Linked DNA regions of Homo sapiens: region 2 is linked to region 1. Evidence: promoter capture Hi-C in 16 types of primary human blood cells and fetal thymus (Javierre and others, 2016). All regions are on one chromosome and are shown on one strand. The core of a region is centred on a gene start or on the middle of the fragment in contact, and the rest is flanking DNA. Distances in the headings are between cores, read along the strand shown.

Region 1 (3,229 bases), core at 520-3,019:
CAAGCAATCCTCTATCCTCGGCCTCTGGAGTAACTGGGACTACAGGCATGCACCACCATGCCCGGCTAATTTTTTGTATTTATTTTGGAGAGATGGGGTCTTGCATTGCCCAGGCTGATCTCAAACTCCCGAGCTTAAGCAATCCTCCCTCCTCGTCCTCCCAAAGTGCTGGGATTACAGGGATGAGCCACCGCACCTGGCCAATGTATCAGTTTTAAAAACAATAGGCATGGAACCAAAAGTATGCTGGAAGTTCCTCGGAAAGAGGTTTCCTTGCTCTTAGGTGGTTTTTTTTTTTTTTTTTTTTTGAGGCGGTGTCTCGCTCTGTCGTCCAGGTTGGAGTGCAGTAGCGCGATCTCATCTCACTGCAACCTCTGCCTCCCAGGTTCAAGCGATTCTTGTGCCTCAGCCTCCCAAGTAGCTGGGATTACAGGCTCCTGCTACCACGCCCGGCTAATTTTTGTACTTTTTTTTTAGTACAGAGGGGGTTTCACCAGGCTGGCCAGGCTGTTCTCGAACTCCTTACCTCAGTCTCCCAAAGTGCTGGGATTCCAGGCGTAAACCACCGTGCCCTGGCAGCTCTTAGGTGTACTTTTTTTTTTTTTTTTTTGAGACGGAGTCTCACTCTGTCGCCCAGGCTGGAGTGCAGTGGTGCCATCTCGGCTCACTGCAAGCTCCACCTCCCGGGTTCACGCCATTCTCCTGCCTCAGCCTCCCGAGTAGCTGGGAGTACAGGCGCCCGCCAGCACGCCCGGCTAATTTTTTGTATTTTTAGTAGAGACAGGGTTTCACCGTGTTAGCCAGGATGGTCTCGATCTCCTGACCTCGGGATCCGCCCGCCTCGGCCTCCCAAAGTGCTGGGATTACAGGCGTGAGCCACCGCGCCCGGCCACTCTTAGGTGTACGTCTAATCGATGTTTATTATTTAGCCAAGTGTTTGGATCTCACCGGCATTACAACTGGAATCATGCAACCTCACACTCAGTTTAGGGTACATTATTCCCCTGTTCCTTTTCCTTTACTTCCATGGGATGTTGGAGCTTATTCCTTCATTAGTTAGTTCCATAAAAAGCTCCTGGACTCCTTACATGCACTGTGTAAGTGCGAGTGGAAGAGGACAGGCTGGTGACCTTGGTTAAGTCTCTTCAGCGATGGAGGACTCTGTTTCCTTCATTGTAAAAACGGCGTGATCATAAGGAAATAATGCGCTAAGGCGTCACAGTAAGTGCTTAATACAGTGGTTCTCGAGGTGTGATCTCCAGACCGACCAGCAGTACCAGTACCACCTGGGAACTCGATAGAAATGCAAATCCTAGGGCCTCACCCCAGATTTACAGAATCAGAAACTCTATGGGGAGGACTAGCAAACAATCCGTTTAAACAAGTCTTGGAGGTGATGAGGATTCATGCTCAAGTTTGAGAACCGCAGGGTTAATAGGTGGTAACTACTAGCAGTTGGTACTTGAGGCTGCAGAGACAATGAAAAACTCAGCTGGCTAAAGTTAAGCACTAAGGTGCCAGCAGCACCCCACAGGGCTCTCCACTGCCTCAGTCCCCGCCCTCCCTGCCGTCTCACTCAACTGGGCCTTCCGAGAGCGCTCGCTGATTGGTGGAGTCTCTGGTCGACATTCACTACCCACTCAACCGCAGAGCTCATAAACTGAGAGGGGCGGAAGTGGGCGGGGCGAGAGCTGTGCGCCTATTGGCTACAGACCACGCCGCAGGGTGAGTGGGGCGGAGCTGCGCGTGCGCAGGGCCGCGGTGCGGCCCTGGCGGCCGTTGAAAAATGGCGACTGTGGCAGAGTTGAAGGCTGGTGAGTGCGAGCAGGGAGGCCTCCACATGGGAAGCGTCGGGCCTTCATCTTGTGGAAAGGATGGGATGGGAGGAGAGCGCGCGGAACACATGGGTTGGCTTTTACAGGCGTCATTCTTCGGTGTGAGGGCCTGCGGGGAGCGTCTGGCTGCTGTCTTGGCCCGTGCGCGGGGAGCTCTTATGGGGAAGAGGTTGCCCACTGGCGAGTTTTAAGCCAGTTTGGAGCTAAAGGAGGAGTTGCGTAATCTTCAGGCATCTAAGAGGCCTACAGGCCTGCATCTTGGGCCCCTGGCTCATCTTCTTGGACCCTGCCGGGGGCTGGAGGACTTGGACCAGGCTTGGCACTCAGGGCTGATGACTACAATTCCCACAACCCCTATTGGGTTAGGCACTGCCCTAAACAATTTGCTTGGTTGTCTCGTTGGGTCCTTACAACAACCTGTTAAGTAGCCCTCCCCTCCTTGCTTTTTTTTTTTTTTTTTAAAGAGAGGGTCTCTCTGTCGCCCAGGCTGGAGTGCAGTAGCGCGATCACAGCTCACTGCAGCTTCGAACTCCGGGACTCCAGCTATCCTCCCACCTCAGCTTCCAGAGCAGGTGGGAATACAGGGGCTCTTCACTACGCCCGGCTAATTTTTGTATTTTTTGTAGACACGGGGTCTTACTGTCGAACTCCTGGTCTCAAGCTATCCTCCTGCCTTGGCCCCCTCAAAGTGCTGGGATTACAGGTGTGAGCGCCTGGCCCCTTTTTCATCAGAAGAAACTAGAGGCAAAAAGTTTGCTGGCCTGGCCATTCTCCTGTCTTTTCAGGAAAAGATACTCTAAGCTAGTTATGTTTGAGTCATTAATGACATTTGTACGCTGTTTACTTTGAAGCAAATGTCCAGACAAGTAATAGTAATAATAGTTATCATTGAGCCTCATGTGTCAGGCACTACTCAACTCAGCCTGTGTGTTACCTGATTGTAACAACCCTATGCCCATTTCATAGACTGGGAAACGAGGTACTGAGAAGTGAAATAGCTCAAAGTGATTTCACTGGAAAGAGACACAGCATGGGAACCTAGTTGTGACGCACTGGAGCGCCAGGTCTTAATCACTGAGCAAGATTGCTGTCCAAAAAATAAAACCAGTTCCACTTTGCAGGGAACCCAGGGTTTAAACTAGTAATTCTTAGATATTTTAGGGAGGAGACGTGTATAAAAGTGTGTATTTGGGGACAGGGCTGGTGAACAATCATAAAACAGAACAGGCATGCATCTGTCCACAAGAACAGACTTCACGAGTCTACAGATGCTGTTCCCAGGGAAATACACATCACATGTAATATTGCATACATTTTCAGAGGATTTAAAGGTACACTTGGAATGGGCCAAGCACAGTGGCTCATGCCTGTAATCCTAACACTTTGGGAGGATC
Region 2 (3,229 bases), core at 340-2,839, 930 kb after region 1:
TTATAATTCGGCATGAGATTTGGGCAGGGACCCAAATCCAAACCATAGCAGGGGGGTCTCACTATTTTGCCCAGACTGGTCTTGAACTCTTGGCCTGACAAGCGATCCTCCCGCCTCAGCTTACCAAAGTGCTGTGATTACAGATATGAGCCACCACATCAAGCTAACATAGGGATCGGCACTCTAGCCTGGGCGACAGAGGAGACTACGTCTCAAAACAATTAATTAATTAATTAAAATAAATAACCCCATACTTTCTGCCTCTGTGGCTTTGCCTGTTCTGGGTATTTCGTGTGAACGGACCCATGCATCTGGTGGTCCGGGCTCATTTCAAACGCTCAGCCCCCATGTCGGCCCATGGCCTCCGGATTGGATGGTGTGAGCTGGGTGTGCGCGGGGTGCTCAATCCCTCCGGAGCATCTGGAGTGGCCACGTGCAGGTGCGGGAGGCGGCGGCGGCGCAGGGGGCAGCTGGAGGCCCGGGAAGCCCGGACGTGGTGTAGGGAGCTGCCGACCATGCTGGCTTCTGATCGCGGGCTCCCAAATTCAAGACAGCCCTGGTGACATAGCAAGAGCCTGTCTCTATAAAAAATTAAAAATCAGCCAGGCATGGTGGTGCATGCCTGTGGTCCCAGCTACTCGTGAGGCTGAGGCGGGAGGATCACTTCAGCCTCGGGGTTTGAGGCTGCAGTGAGCTATGACTGTACCACTGCGTTCCAGCCTAGGTGACAGAGTAAGACTTTGTCTAAAAAAAAGAGAGAGAAAGGGAGATGGGAAGATTTATGCTGCTGACTTTGAAGATGTTGGATGGGGAGCCAAGGAGTGCAGGGAGCATCTAGAAGCTTGGAAGAGGCAAGAAAATGAACTCTCCTTTAGGACCTCCAGGAGGAATGCAGTCCTGCAGACCCATTTTAGACTCTGACACCCCAAATTCTAAGACAAGAAGTTTGTGTTCTTTTAAGCCATTAAATTCGTGGTAATTTGTTACCTCAGCCATGGAAAAATGATACAAGGGGGATATAAGTAAAAAGCAAAGAAGGAGATGTTTTGGTGAGCTGGAAGCCTGCCCAGCTGGGAGAAATCTAACAGAAGTTTACTCCGGACCAGTAACAAGGATAAGGAGCCGGAGAAGGCTATAAATCAATAAACGGGCAGATAAAAAGGGTCAGAGAACATAGAAATGGGCAGATTTCCAAGAACTGAAGAGAATGGATATATTAGTTTGCTGGGGCTGCCATAACAAAATAGCGCACACAGCGTGGCTTAGACAATAGAAACTTATTTGCTCACCCTTCTGGAGGCAAGAAGTCCAAGACCAGGGTGCCTGCTGGGTTAGTTTCACACGGCTGCCTTCTTGCTGTGTCTTCACATGGTCTTTCCTTGGTGTGAAAACATCCCTGGTGCCTCGTTTTATTTATTTATTTTTTAAATAAAAAAAAAGAGAGAGAGAGTGACAGGGTCTCACTACGTTGCCCAGGCTGGTTTTGAACTCCTGAGCTCAGGCAATCCTCCTGCCTTGGCCTCCTAAAGGGCTGGGATTACAGGCATGAGCCACCATGCCCGGCCCCTGGTGCCTGTTTGTGTGTCCAAATTTTTTTTTTATTTTATTTTATTTTTAAAGACGGAATCTTGCTCTGTCACCCAGGCTGTAGTGCAGTGGCTCGATCTCCTCTCACTGCAACCTCCCTCTCCCAGGTTCAAGCGATTCTCCTGCCTCAGCCTCCCAAGTAGTTGGGATTACAGACATGTGCCACCACACCCAGCTAATTTTTAGTAGAGATGGGGTTTCACCATGTTGGCCAGGCTGGTCTCAAGTGATCTTCGTACCTCAAGTGATCCTCCTACTTTAGCCTCCTAAAGTGCTGGGATTACAGGTGTGAGCCACCAACCATGCCCCCAAATTTCCTCTTCTTATAAGGACACCAGACAGATTGGATTAGAGCCCATCCTAAAGGTCTCACTTTAACTTAATTGCCATTTTAAAGGCCTTATCTTCAAACACAGTCGCCTTCTGAGGTACTGGAAATTAGGGCTCCAATATATGAATTTTGGAGGGCATCATTTAGCCCATAACAACTGGGTTGATAAACTGAGGGACAGCCTACAGAATAGCCGGTTAGTGATCTCACTTGGAGACTAAGGCCATTTGACAGTTCAACACAATGTGAAGCAATCTGGGATTGGAGGCCAGACTGGGAACAAAGAACCTTAGGGTGACGATCGGTGATCATTTGAATAAGATCTGTAGATTAGGTACGTGTATGATTTCCGTGCTTATTTCCTTGTTTTGATCATTGTACTATGGTCATGTAAGATATCAATATTTCAGGAAGCTTGGATGAAGAGTATGTGGTAACTCTTTGTACTATTTTTGCAACTTCTTTCAAAGTCTGTAGTTATTTCAAAGTTAAAAGCTAAAAATCAAGGCCAGGCACGGTGGCTCATGGCTATAATCCCAGCACTTTGGGAGGCCGAGGCCGGCGGATCACCTGAGGACAAGAGTTGGAGACGAGCCTGGCCCACATGGCGAAACCCCGTCTGTACTAAAAATACCAAAATGATCCAGGCATGGTAGCGCATGCCTTTATTCCCAGCTACTGGAGAGGCTGAGCCAGGAGAATCGCTTGAACTTGGGAGGGAGAAGTTGCAGTGAGCCAAGATCGCACCACTGTACTCCAGAGCCTGGGCAACAGGAGTCTGTCTCAAAAAAAAAAAAAAAAAAAAAGAAAAAAGAGAAGTTAAAATCAGGGCCAGGTGCGGTGGATCATGCCTGTAATCCCAGCACTTTGGGAGGCCAAGGTGTGTGGATCACAAGGTCAGGAGATCGAGACCATCTTGGCTAACATGATGAAACCCCATCTCTACTAAAAATACAAAAAAAAAAAAGAAAGAAAGAAAAATTAGCCGGACATGGTGGCGGGTGCCTGTAGTCCCAGCTACTCAGGAGGCTGAGGCAGGAAGCTACGTTGAGCCCAGGCATTTGAGGTTGCAGTGAGCTATGATTGTGCCACTGCACTCCAGCCTGGGAAACAGGGTAAGACCCTATCTCAAAAAAAAAAAAAAAAAAAAAAAAGGTGAGAAAAAGAAGCAAGGAGAAAATGAGTTCTATGAGGTGCGAGACTCTATATTGTCTGTTGCTTGGGTTCCCACTGACACCCCACTTTTGGGACAGTGCCTGGAAGCTGGGAGCTCAGCATATGTTTTGGGAGGTGATGATCATTGAGGCACAA

Evidence for each region. The method cuts DNA at HindIII sites, captures the fragments that hold promoters and counts their contacts. A CHiCAGO score of 5 or more calls a contact.
Region 2: a fragment that was not itself captured here is called in contact with the fragment with the promoter of CEP20 in region 1 in 4 of 17 cell types (naive B cells, total B cells, M0 macrophages and 1 more); the score reaches 9.5 in naive B cells.

Annotation. Positions count from the first base shown.
Region 1 is chr16:15,887,143-15,890,371 of GRCh38, reverse strand. It overlaps CEP20 (centrosomal protein 20), which reads left to right and starts at 1,769. Exons shown (of 5, transcript NM_144600.4): 1 at 1,769-1,814. The coding sequence starts at 1,787. The HindIII fragment of the contact is 7,894 bases long and covers 1-3,229 here.
Region 2 is chr16:14,954,997-14,958,225 of GRCh38, reverse strand. No RefSeq gene overlaps it. Among named protein-coding and RNA genes, the nearest start is that of PDXDC1, 18 kb to the left of the region's middle. The HindIII fragment of the contact is 1,491 bases long and covers 844-2,334 here.